Regions from separate parts of the Homo sapiens genome. Here regions 1, 3 and 4 are each linked to region 2. The links are contacts of gene promoters, found by promoter capture Hi-C in human tissues and cell types (Jung and others, 2019). All regions are on one chromosome and are shown on one strand. Each heading gives the region's core, a stretch centred on a gene start or on the middle of the fragment in contact. The rest is flanking DNA. Distances are from core to core; before and after follow the strand shown.

The links. Contacts are between HindIII fragments. The study calls those that stand out against the background at their distance.
Region 1: a contact is called between a fragment that was not itself captured here and the fragment with the promoter of AJAP1 in region 2, in 2 of the 25 tissues and cell types used here (dorsolateral prefrontal cortex and hippocampus).
Region 3: a fragment that was not itself captured here is called in contact with the fragment with the promoter of AJAP1 in region 2 in 4 of the 25 tissues and cell types used here (H1 embryonic stem cells, dorsolateral prefrontal cortex, neural progenitor cells and 1 more).
Region 4: a fragment that was not itself captured here is called in contact with the fragment with the promoter of AJAP1 in region 2 in 2 of the 25 tissues and cell types used here (liver and spleen).

Annotation. Positions count from the first base shown.
Region 1 is chr1:4,799,709-4,802,737 of GRCh38, forward strand. No RefSeq gene overlaps it. Among named protein-coding and RNA genes, the nearest start is that of AJAP1, 150 kb to the left of the region's middle. The HindIII fragment of the contact is 9,800 bases long and covers 1-3,029 here.
Region 2 is chr1:4,652,967-4,656,134 of GRCh38, forward strand. AJAP1 (adherens junctions associated protein 1) reads left to right here and starts at 1,643. Exons shown (of 6, transcript NM_018836.4): 1 at 1,643-2,488. The coding sequence starts at 2,460. The HindIII fragment of the contact is 14,001 bases long and covers 1-3,168 here.
Region 3 is chr1:4,821,138-4,824,192 of GRCh38, forward strand. No RefSeq gene overlaps it. Among named protein-coding and RNA genes, the nearest start is that of LINC02781, 150 kb to the right of the region's middle. RefSeq lists an enhancer at 1-518. The HindIII fragment of the contact is 6,733 bases long and covers 1-3,055 here.
Region 4 is chr1:4,838,544-4,841,380 of GRCh38, forward strand. No RefSeq gene overlaps it. Among named protein-coding and RNA genes, the nearest start is that of LINC02781, 130 kb to the right of the region's middle. The HindIII fragment of the contact is 6,638 bases long and covers 1-2,837 here.

The sequences.
Region 1 (3,029 bases), core at 222-2,721, 150 kb after region 2:
CTTCTGGGCTTTGCTAAGAAAACAAAATCTACGCTGTTGGAGTAGCTGCTGGAGGTGAGGAGGGGAAGAGTGAACGCCTTGAAGCCAGAGATCCTGCAGCTTTGCAGGGAGACATGAGTTTTCTCCTCCTGCACCATGGTGGCATCACAAGAGGGTTCGAGCCCTTCCAGACGGCAGACCTAGCACCAAGCACGCGGCTTGCATTGCCTCATTTATTCCTCATGACCATGCTATGAAGTAGGCATTAGTGTCATCCAGCTTTATGAATGAAGAATCTGAGTCAGAGAGAGGTTGAGGAACTTGCTCTTGGTCACACAGCCTGACTTCAGCCAAAATAGTCCAACCTCAGTGCCCACATGCTTCCCCTCCCTGCTAAACTACCAGCCAAAGACCACACTAAATGACAAGAGGCTGATGGGGGCTGAGTGGCTTCTGGCCTAGTCCCCCAGAAGAGGTGTCTTCTCCCACCAGAATTCTTTGAGAACTTGCAAGTTCTGGGAAGAAGTATCATTGGGAGAGGGAGGGAAACAGAGTCACATACATAAACAATGCAAGACAGCATGTGATTTGTGCATGTACAAGTTACAGAGGACAGGGCCTGGGAGCCCCGAGAGGGGAAGGAGCCTACAGGCCAAGTGACCAGGGGCCCCATGGGAGGGGAGGATGCTGCGCCTTCCCTATTATATTTGCCTCCCTAGGACATGCCATGCAGGCATTCTACCGGTGCAGTTGATGCCTCTCCAGGAAGGTCCTCAGGCACCAGACTTGTCCATGAAATCCATAGAAGAGGATGGACTCTGGTGGAGAAATCCTCCTTGAGCTTCATCACGGCCTCCACGGTGGAGGTCAGGCCCCTGAACAAGCCGCTCACTGGGCTTCTCAAGCCACTATGTCTCCACCCTGCATCCAGACAAGGCTTCATTTGATGCCCCCACCTCCCATCTTCCACCCTCCTTGTCGCCTTAGCTGTGCGAGATGCCCCAAAACCTGTCTGGCTCTTACACACGTGCCTGTCTGCAAGGGCAGGCTGTGAGATGCAGCTACAGGCTGTGGGCAGACAGTGCATGGCCCACGCCTGTGGCTCACCCTGCACATCGTGCCTGGAAGCTCCCTCTGAAAACACAAGGCTCAGCTTCCCCAGAGGTGGCCACACTATGCCAGGTCATTTAAACTGAGGGGCAAACTTTGAGAGAAGGAAAGAAAGAAGGAGCTGTGTGGATAAATTCCTCTTCTTTCCTCTCCCTAATGGATTGCTCCAAAGAGGACATTGCTAGGTGGTTTCTCTGGAGAATTCCAGCCTGACCAAGCAAAGGTGATTGGGAGGCTGTGGCCAGCACAATAACTCACCACCAACTTGCATTTGTTTTCCTCCACCCCTTTTCTCTTCCTTTCCTCCAAACGGTCTCACTCCCAGAATTACACTCCCTGAATTACACTCCCTGCAATAAAGCATTAACACATAAGTCCTGTAGGGACTCATATTCAGACTAGGATGGGAAGGTATCCAGGGAAATCGTAGATGGTAGCAATGTTGGGAAACGAAGGAGACCCATCTGCCACAGAAGCTTGTCCAGGTACAATTTCCAGCAGGCTGTTGGGATGGGTCAAGGAAGGCTTTGATGCTGAGCTCAGACACTTTGACTTCATTCTGTAGACCAGCGGGGAACACACTGGGTCGCCTGGACAAGAGGCTCACTTTCGGATTAAATGGGTCTCATGTTAGAGGGTGTCCCAGGTGGCTCAGATGTGCCCGACTTGGGCAGAATCACATCTTCAGGAGTAGAGGAGCCCTTTGTGCTTTTGAGCAAAGAAGTGCTGTGAACAGGACCGAATTTGAAAAAAGAGATGCAGACAGAGGGTTGAGTGGGAAGCTAAACCAGAGCCAGCAGTCCAGAGAGGAGCCTTGAGAACAGGCAGCCAGACCAACAGGCCACTTGAGGAAGACCCGTGGCCGAGGGGGCGGACCTGCAGGAGGAGCAAAACACAGAGCTGTTTCCACGGCCAACTGGGGTACTCGCCAGGAAGCCAGATGTCTGTGCTGGAAAATGTCCACACACAGCTGCTCCGAACCCAAGCCAGGGCCTGGCGGTGATGTGTAAAAGCAACAAAGACAGTGGGGCTGGACAGGGGCAGAAGGTCTTATGGTGTGATCTGGGGAGGAAACAGACACCTGGATCCTGGCCAGGTCATGAGAGTTCTATTACCCCATACTCTCCTCCAGGGTGGCTCACCTCTTGCCCACCACCCACTGGACTCAATACAACAGTTGTCTCTGTCTCAAGCCTGCAGGAAGGTAGCCAGATAGGAAGAAGATGCATGTGCTGCTGAGTGAAGATGGAGGAGCCAGAGCAGAAGGTGGGAGCTCCCCAGTCCCGAAGAAGGCAAGGGGACCACCCAGGCATGAAGACACCATCCCTGCGGAGGCCAGCTCCCCACACGCATCAGTGATCCCCCATCAGAAACGGCTCTGAACCCTCCCCTGTCTCCATCTCTCCCGCATTGCTATGGGTTGAATGCTTTTGTCCTCTCCAAAAAGTTATGTTGAAACTTAATCCCCAGTGCAACACTGTTGGGAGATCTGGCCTTTTGAGAGGGTTTGGGCCATGAGGATCTTTCCTCATGAATGGATTAACGTTGCTCTGAAAAGGGCTTGCAGGGTGGGTGGGGAATTCACTCTTTTTGCTCTTCTGCTATGTGAGGGCACATTGCTCATTCCCACTTTCCCTCCCACTGACTATGTGAGGACACAGCAAGAAGGCCTTCACCAAGTACTGGATGCTTGTGCCTTGATCTTGGACTTCCCAGCCTCCGGAACTGTGAGAAATAAATTTTCTGTTTTTTATATATTACGTGGCCTGTGGTATTTTGTTGTAGCAGCACAAATGGACTAACACACATGCTGTTCTGATCAAGCCTCACTAACCTGCACCCAGTCTGTCTATACCACATCCTTATTGGGATGCTCACCTTCTCTCCTCTTCTTCCCACTGCCATTGCAAAAATGACATTCAATATTCTCTGCACAAAAC
Region 2 (3,168 bases), core at 393-2,892:
CATAGCCACAGTGTGTGTAAGGCCTTCTCATGGAGCCCTGCAAACACCTCCCCGGGGAGGGGCTGTGGGACCCATCTTACAGATGAGGAGACCGAGGGTCGGAGAGGCCACACAACTCGGCCAGGACCCCGAGTTAGCAAGCGCTGGCCCCTGGTCCAGCCACGGCAAGGCTGGCCCTCCTGCCACCACACTTCCCTGCCTCTGGCCCTCTGCCGGGAGTCTTGGTGGGGAAGTCACTGTCTTCATCCTCCTGCCCGGGCAGAGTCCAATCCTGTGCCTGGCTCCTCAAGACCGTTGGCAAAGATCCTGGAGGCCTGGGGGTGAAAGGGCTGCTTGGGGGACTTAAGCCCCAAGCTATGGTTCGCCTGGGAGACTGAGCCCCAAGCCATGGTCCTCCTGGCTCTGCCCTTCCACCCCCTCACTGGCTGCCCCTCCCAGGGAGGCCTCACCTGTGAAGTGCTTCCCGCCCCTCTCACCCCCCACGGCTCTCACATGGCCTGGGGCGATTCCAGAGCTGGCCTGGGTCAAGCACCTGCACAGAGCACAGAGCGAAGGCTCGGCATGGTATATCCCCCGCCCCTTGCACCTTTCCCCAGTGAAGGGTGGCACCAGTGTCCTTTCCAAGGCCCGGATTCTGCACTGCCCTCAGCCTGTGGAGGATTAAAAGCAGGGTTTTGCCGTGGTTTCTCAAGGCGTCAGCGGGTCTGCAGAGGATTCCGCCCCATGTCACTTCTCTCAGTGAAAGGTCCCCGCCCAGCGTCTGTCCTCCTTTAAGTGCCCCCCATTTGTTTTTTGTTGTTGTTTTTGTTTGTTTTTTGCAAATACAGACTAACCAGGTAGGCACAGAGGAGTCCTGGCATGGGAAGGGAGCAGTGAAACGCCGGTGGAGAGTCCGGGAGGCCCAGATTCCCTGGAACTTTCCAGTGACTCCTCCGGAGCAAGGGCCTGGCCAGGCAGCAGCTGCGCTGGGCGATGAGGGACCGTTGGGTAATTGGGGGCATAGGACCGGGCTTCGCTGGGTTCGGGGCAGAAGCGCCGAAGCTCCGACCCGGAACGCGGTGACTTCATCAACGCAGAAGCCCGCGCAGCCGAGCAGAGGAGTCCCTCGTAGGCGACCCTCGGACAGACGCTCCTGCGCGGCCCGCGTGGCTCAGCTCCGCCCCAGGAAACTTTTCGCGCAGCCCCCGCTCCATGCGCCCCCACCCAGTCCTTCTTCGGGGCCGCCCCCTCCCCAAAGTAGCTCTCCGGGTCCACTGGGCGCCCCCGTAACCGGGTCGGAACCTCGAACGGCTTCGCGTGCCATCCGGTTACCCTGGCAACACCATCCGGCGGCGCCCGGCGGTCCAATCCTAGCCTGCGGCCTCTCTCGAGCCTTTCGCAAGGTGGGGACCGGGACGCGACCGGGGATGGGGAAGGGGGCTGCAGGAGGCCCCGCCTGCGCTGTCGCCCCTGCTGGGCACAGCGCCCCCCACCACCCGCGGCGACCCCGGCCCCCGCAAGGTGGGGCGGCGAGCAGGAGCCGGGGCCAGGCCAGGGGCTCGAGCTCCCGTTCGAGGGGCGGGGAAGGCGGGTGACGTGAGCCGGGCCGGGCGGGCGGAGTTGGGACCGGCTCCGGGAGGCGGGGGCGAGCGCGCGGAGAGGCAGACGCGAGGAGGGAGGCGGCTGAGCAGCGCGGGCGGCTCTGCGGCGGGCGCGGTGGGCGCGGGCGGCGGGGCCCCGGGATCCCCGCGCGCCTCCTCCGCGCGGCGCCGCCGCCGCGCGTCCCCACGCCCCGCGCTCCACGGCGCCCTCGCCCCGCGCGCCTCTCGTGCCCGCCTCCTGCCAGTCTCCGGGCCGCGGCCGTCTGCAGAGCGAGCGCTCAGACGGAGCCCCCGGGCAACTTGAGTGGCGCCGATCGGCGGCGGAGCCTCTGGCAGAGCCCCCCGACCCGGCAGCGCGGAGGGGACTCGCGTCCGTCCGCGTCGCGTCACCCCAAACCCTAAGCAGCGCCGCCCCATCGGCGCGGAGCTCCGGCTGGAGGCAAGAGCCGCGCGCCGGGAGACACGCACCGTGAGCGGCAGCGCCGCCGGCCTCCCTCCTCGCCGCCCCGGAGGGCGAAGCCGCGGCTCCCCAGCCCTTTGCTGCGCCGCGACAGCGCCGGAACACGCCCCGCCTCGCTGCCGCCTTCGCTGTGCCGCCGGCGGAGGGGGCCGCGAGCCCCGCGCCCCGGCCGGAGGATGTGCGCCCCCGCGGGCCGCCCAGCCTGAGCCATGCGCCCCAACGGCGGCGGCGCGCCGGCCGGCATGGAGCCCCGCGCGGCCGCGCTCTGACTCGCTGTGCGCCCCGCGGCCGGCGGGCGGCGGGAGGCGGCGGACCGAGAGCCGGAGACCGGCGCCGCGGGACGGAAGCGAGCGGGCGCGGGCGCCGCGCAGATGGCCTGGGCGAGCCAGGTCTGAGGCCCCGCTCCCCGAAACGTGACCATGTGGATTCAACAGCTTTTAGGACTCAGGTGAGCGACCCGGCCGGCGCCGGGTGCGTGTGGGCGCGTGGGTGCCAGGCTGGGCGGAAGCGGCGCTTTCCTCTATGTTGCAAATCAAGGGACCCCTCTTCGCTTCCCGCAAGCGGGCAACGGGGTGCACCGGTAGCCGGAAAGGGGCGCCCGCCCGGAGCCTGGAGCAGCACCGCGGCCCTGGCGGGGAGCGGCCGGGTCTCCAGGGTTCCGCGCGTCCGGGGTCGGGGCAGCGGCGCCCGCCCCAGCAACCCGGGAAGTGGGGCCGGCCAGGCGCGCCCGCAGCTCTAGGAGCCAGCAGCGCAGTGTCCTGGCCGGCTGCCCCGGCGCGCCTCCTCCCCGGGGCCCGGGGCGAGGCGCCGGCCGCTGGGCGCGGCGGGCGCGGGGGCCGGGGCTGCCGGGGAAAGCTAAAGCTCCGGGCTCCCAGCGAGAGCTTCGCAGGCGGAGTTGGAGGAAACCACAGCCAAACAGCCACTCCGCTCCCCCTTCTCCTTTCTCGGGGCCCCGGGGCTGAGCAGGGGCCTCCCAGGCTCCCAGCTGCCGACCCAGCTGTTTGCGGGTGACCTCCGGGCCCGACGGGCGCTCACAGCTGGCGGGCAGCTGGGGCGGGAGAGCTGGGGTTCTTGGGGAGCTCCGGCGGCCACCCCGCTGTAAACACACACGCACATACGCCCGCCGGC
Region 3 (3,055 bases), core at 143-2,642, 170 kb after region 2:
GGGTCTTCTGTACTGGCCCTCTCCTTCTGCGGATGTGAAAACTGGAGGCGCAGAGACACATGTGGCCTCTTCTTGGTCAAGAGAGAGTTAATGTCCAGGCTTGAAGGAAGCCCTTCAAGGTTCTTCTCACATTGAAGTCAGGCTGTTCCCCTAGGATCCCTGTCCTCTTCATTTCTTATTCTAAATTTGTAGATTAACTCATGTTAATGATTCCTGATGGGTGGAAATGTTATTCTATTAACATATTTGCATAATGATAGGAACTTCAGTGCCTTAATGGGGGAAACTGAAGTCCCAGGGAGGGCCAGTGGAGCAGGAATTGGCGGCTCTTGGGGACTTTTGTACTTTTTGCTTATTTGAGAAAAGTCATGGATTCCCTCCCCAGAGAAGGTAACGTGAGCCCAAACTGTGGGCTATTTGAGGGGATTCACAGACCCCCTCCACCCTACCAACCCATCTAAGGCCCAGACTAATACCATGAGGGAAGCCAGACTCTTCCCCTCTGGCTTTAGCCCTGATGACTGCGTGCAGTGGTGACAAGGCACCCCATCATTTGATGGTGTTTGGGGAGACAGAAAGAGAAAGAGAGATTGAGAGAAAGATTATCTTCTGTAATTCATTAATAATAATGTTACCGAAGGTAGTTGGTCAGACATACGCAGGGCAGGAGAGAGCGCCCCTGGCCCCTACAACCCCAACCAGAAATATCAGGCAACAATCACTGATGGTCAAGCAGTGGTTAAACTGTTTCTCTAAAATAATAATTGGTTGCAGCCAGTGCCAGGGAAAAGCAGTATCCCCAATAGATAGAAACATCTGAAACTCATGATCAGCAGCTTCCGATAACATCTCAGGAGCTGGGCAAGTGGGTTCAAGCATGCACACTAAGAGGCAAAATGGTGGAGTTTAACTGGTCTATGACTCCTCCTAGGGACATCTGGTAAGAGAAGAATGCCTCAAGTGAGTATGTACACAACTCTAGTAAACACACAGCACATGTGGAACCCCCTCTCCCTGTAAGTGCTGGCAGCCACTGTGCATGCGGACAGCCCACCCCAAGGGAAGAATCAGGAGAGAAGGGACACGAGGCCCTGGAAGTATGCCAACATATAAAACCCTAAGTCAAAGGTCGAACTGTGCTCTTGAATCCCTCAAGTCACCCACTTGGCCCTCTTCCAAGTGTACTTTACTTCCTTTCATTCCTGCTCTAAAACTTTTTAATAAACTCACTCCTGCTCTAAAACTTGCCTCACTGTCTCCCTCTGCCTTATGCCCCTTAGCTGAATTCTTTCTTCTGAGGAGGCAAGAATTGAGGCTGCTGTAGACCCATGTGGATTTGCCACTGCTGAACAATAATACCAAGTAACAGCTGACCTTTCCTTGGTGCTCACTGGGAGCTGGGTATTATTTGAAGTACATAGCAGGAAAAGACTCACAACTCGAGGTTTGCAATTAGAAGCCTCCAAGGGCTCCCCCGAGCAGAGACCGTGGCATAACATGCCCACAGTCCTCAGGCCAGTGTTGAGAAAGGCCAAACCCTGTAAAATATTGTTAAATAGAACTAAATATGGCCTGAGAAAGCCTCCATACTTCCATACTTGAGTCCTTGAGGATGAACCGTAACCTAACTTAGTAAGCAGACGAGACTAGACACCTGATTTAGGAGGATGCTTCAGTGGCTGAGTCTCGGCCAATCTCAGCAGCCAGACTTTCACCACTCATAGGCTGCTGTTCAAACTGTGTTCAAATAAAAGCAAATGCCAAGTTGTAACCAATCCGGCTGCTTCTGAATCTCACTTCTGTTTTCTGTCCATCACTTTCCTTTTTTTAATCTATAAATTTGCTCTGACCAAGAGGCATCCCTGGAGTCTCTCTAAATCTGCTGTGATTCTGGAGGTTACCCGATTCAAGAATCATTCTTTTTTTTCTTTGCTCAATTAAACTCTGTTAAATTTAATTTGTCTAATGTTTTTCTATTAACAATGTTTAAAGAAGTTTATTCTGAGTCCAATATGAGTGACCATGGCTTGCACACAGTTTCAAGAAGTCCTGAGTACAAGTGCCTGAGGGGGTCGGGTTACAGCTTACATATATATATGTGTATATATATACGTATATATATTCTTCCCTTGGGGTGGGCTGTCCGCATGCACAGTGGCTGCCAGCACTTACAGGGAGAGGGGGTATCACATGTGCAGTGTGTTTACTACAGTTGTGTACATACTCACTTGAGGCATTCTTCTCTTACCAGATGTCCCTAGGAGGAGTCATAGACCAGTTAAACTCCACCATTTTGCCTCTTAGTGTGCATGCTTGAACCCACTTGCCCAGCTCCTGAGATGTTATATACGTATATACATATACACGTATATATACGTATATATACGTGTATGTATATATGTATATATACGTATATATACGTGTACATATATATACACACACACACACACACACACATATATATATGTGTGTGATGATGGGTCACTGCAACCTCTGCCTCCCAGGTTCAAGCTATTCTCCTGCCTCAGCCTCCTGAGTAGCTGGATTACAGGCATGCACCACCACACCTGTATAATATTTGTTTGGTTTGTTGTTGTTGTTGTTGAGATGGAGTTTCACTCCTGTTGCCCAGGCTGGAGTACAGTGATGTGATCTCGGTTTACTGCAACCTCCGCCCCCTGAGCTCAAGCAATTCTCCTGCCTCAGCCTCCCGAGTATTTGGGATTATAGGTGCCCACTACCACACCCAGCTAATTTTTGTACTTTTGGTAGAGATGGGGTTTCACCATGTCAGTTAGGCTGGTTTTGAACTCCTGACCTCAAGTGATCCACCTGCCTTTGCCTCCCAAAGTGCTGGGACTGCAGGCATGAGCCCCACATCCAGCCAATACATTTTAAGGATACAGAAGTTACAGGCAAAGACATAAATCAATATGCATAAGGTATACATTTGTTCAGCCTGGAAAGGTGGGACATCTTGAAGTGGGGCAGGGGTAGGGGATGGGGAGGGCTTATAGGTCATGGGTGGATTCAAAGATTTTCTGATCACCAGTTG
Region 4 (2,837 bases), core at 141-2,640, 190 kb after region 2:
CATAAGATAAGTCAGCCTTTGCATGGAGAGGGAACAATAAAAAAACAGAATCACAGAGAAGTAGAGCTGGTTCCTTGACCAAACCATAATTGAAAATCATTTACTTCCAGATTATTCTTATTGTTATATTACCTGAGCTGGGATTTTTACTGCCCACAATGCAAAGCACCCCCAAATGAACTGTGCAGGGAGGGCAGATATTTATTTCATTTTAATAGATGAGCATGAAAGTTTCAAGTTCTTAACCAAATGGCACTGGAAACTGTATTAGTTCGTTTTCATGCTGCTGATAAAGATATACCCAAGACTGGGTAATTTACAAAGAAAAAGAGGTTTAATGGGCTCACAGTTCCAAGTGGCTGGGGAGACCTCATAATCATAGCAGAAGGTGAAAGGCACATCTTACACCATGACAAAAGAGAATAAGCACCAAGCGAAAGGGAAATCCCTTATAAAATCATCAGATCTTGTGAGACTTATTCACTACCATGAGAACAGTATGAGGGAAACTGCCCCTGTGATTCAATTATCTCCCACTGGGTCACTCCCACTACATGTGGGAATTATGGGAGCTAAAATTCAAGATGAGATTTGGGCAGGGACACAGCCAAACCATATCATTCTGACCCTGGCCTCTCCCAAATCTTACGTCCTCACATTTCAAAACAAATCATGCCTTCCCAACAGTCTTCCAAAGTCTTAATTCATTTCAGCAATAACTCAAAAGTCCACGGTGCCATTCCAAATGAGAGAAGTTGGCCAAAACAAAGGGGCTACAGGCCCCATGCAAGTCTGAAATCCAATGGGACAGTCAATGGGGCAGTCAAATCTTAAAGCTCCAAAATGATATCCTTTGATTCCATGTCTCACATCCAGGTCATGCTGCTGCAAAAGGTGGGTTCCCATGTCATGGGCAGCTCCACCCTCATGGCTTTGCAGGGTATAGCCTCCCTCCTGGATGCTTTCAAGGGCAGGTGTTGAGTGTCTGTGGTTTTTCTAGGCACACGGTGCAAGCTGTTGATGGATCTACCATTCTGAAATCTGAAGGACAGTGGCCCTCTTCTCATAGTTCCACTAGGCAGTGCCTCAGTGAGGACTCTATGTTCGGGACCCAACACCACATTTCCCTTCTGCACTGCCCTAGAAGAGATTCTTCATGAGGGACTCTCCCCTGCAGCAAACTTCTGCCTGGACATCCAGGCATTTCCATACATCTTCTGAAATCTACACAGAGGCTCCCTAACCTCAGTTCTTGACTTCTGTGTACCTATAGGCTCAACACAACATGGAAGCTGCCAAAGCTTGGTGCTTGCACCCTCTGAAGCCACAGCCCAAGCTGTAACTTGGACCCTTTTAGCCATGGCTGCAGTGACTGGGATGCAGGGCACTAAGTCTCTAGGCTGCACACAGCAGAGGGGACCTGGGCCCAGGCACGAAACCAATTTTTCCTCCTACATCTGTGGGCCTGTGATGGGAGGGGCTACCATAAAGGTCTCTGTCATGCCCTAGAGACATTTTCCCCATTGTCTTGGGGATTAACATTTGGCTCCTTGTTACTTATGCAAATTTCTGCACCTAGCTTGAATTTCTCCTTAGAAAATATTTTTTTTTCCTATTGCATAATCAGGCTGGAAATTTTTTGAACTGTTATGCTGTGTTTCTCTTTTAAAACTGAATGCCTTTAACAGCACTCAAGTCACCTCTCGAATGCTTTCCTGCTTAGAAACTTCTGCCAGATACCCTAAATCATCTCCCTCAAGTTCAAAGTTCCACAAGTCTCTAGGGCAGGGGCAAAATGCCACCAGTCTCTTTGCTAAAACTTAGCAAGAGTCACCTTTACTCCAGTTCCCAACACGTTCCTCATCTCTATCTGAGACCACCTCAGCCTGGATTTCATTGTCCTTATAATTATCAGCATTTTGGTCAAAGCCATTCAACAAGTCTCTAGGAGGTTCCAAACTTTCCCACATTGTCCTATCTTCTTCTGAGTGCTCCAAATTGTTCCAACCTCTGCCTATTACCAAGTTCCAAAGTTGCTTCCACATTTTTGGGTATCTTTACAAGAGCTCTCCACTCTATCAGTACCAATTTACTGTATTAGCCCATTTTCATGCTGCTGATAAAGATATACCTGAGACTGGGTAAGTTACAAAGAAAAAGAGGTTTAATGGACTCACAGTTCCACGTGGCTGGGGAGGCCTCACAATCCTGGCAGAAGGTGAGAGGCATGTCTTACGTGATGGCAGACAAGAGAGAATGCGAGCCAAGTAAAAAGGGGAAACCCCTTATAAAACCATTGGATCTCATGAGACTCATTCACTACCATGAGAACAATATAGGGGAAACTGCCCCCATGATTCAATTATCCCCCACTCTGTCCCTCCCACTACACGTGGGAATTATGGGAGCTACAATTCAAGATGATATTTGGATGGGGACACAGCCAAACCATACCAGAAACTATCAGAGATGGAAATCATCAAAGGTGTAGAACTGAAATTGATTTTTTTTCCTAATGGGTGGTAGGCAAAATTCTAACATGACCTCCACAATTGCCACCCCTTGTGTACATGGCCTGTACATCTCCCCTTGAATGTGACAAAATTTATGAATATGATGGGATGTCACTCCTGTGATTAGATGACACCATATGGCAAAAGTCAAGAAATTTTGTAGGTGTAGTTGAGGTTCAAACTAATTGATCTTGAGTTAATCAAAGGGAGTCTGCTCTTGATGTCATCTGGTGAACTCTTAAAAGAGACACAAAGTAGCAGATGTTCTCTTGCTGTCTGGGAAGGAAGTTCACTGTCATGATGTGGAAAGGGCTACTTAGCAGG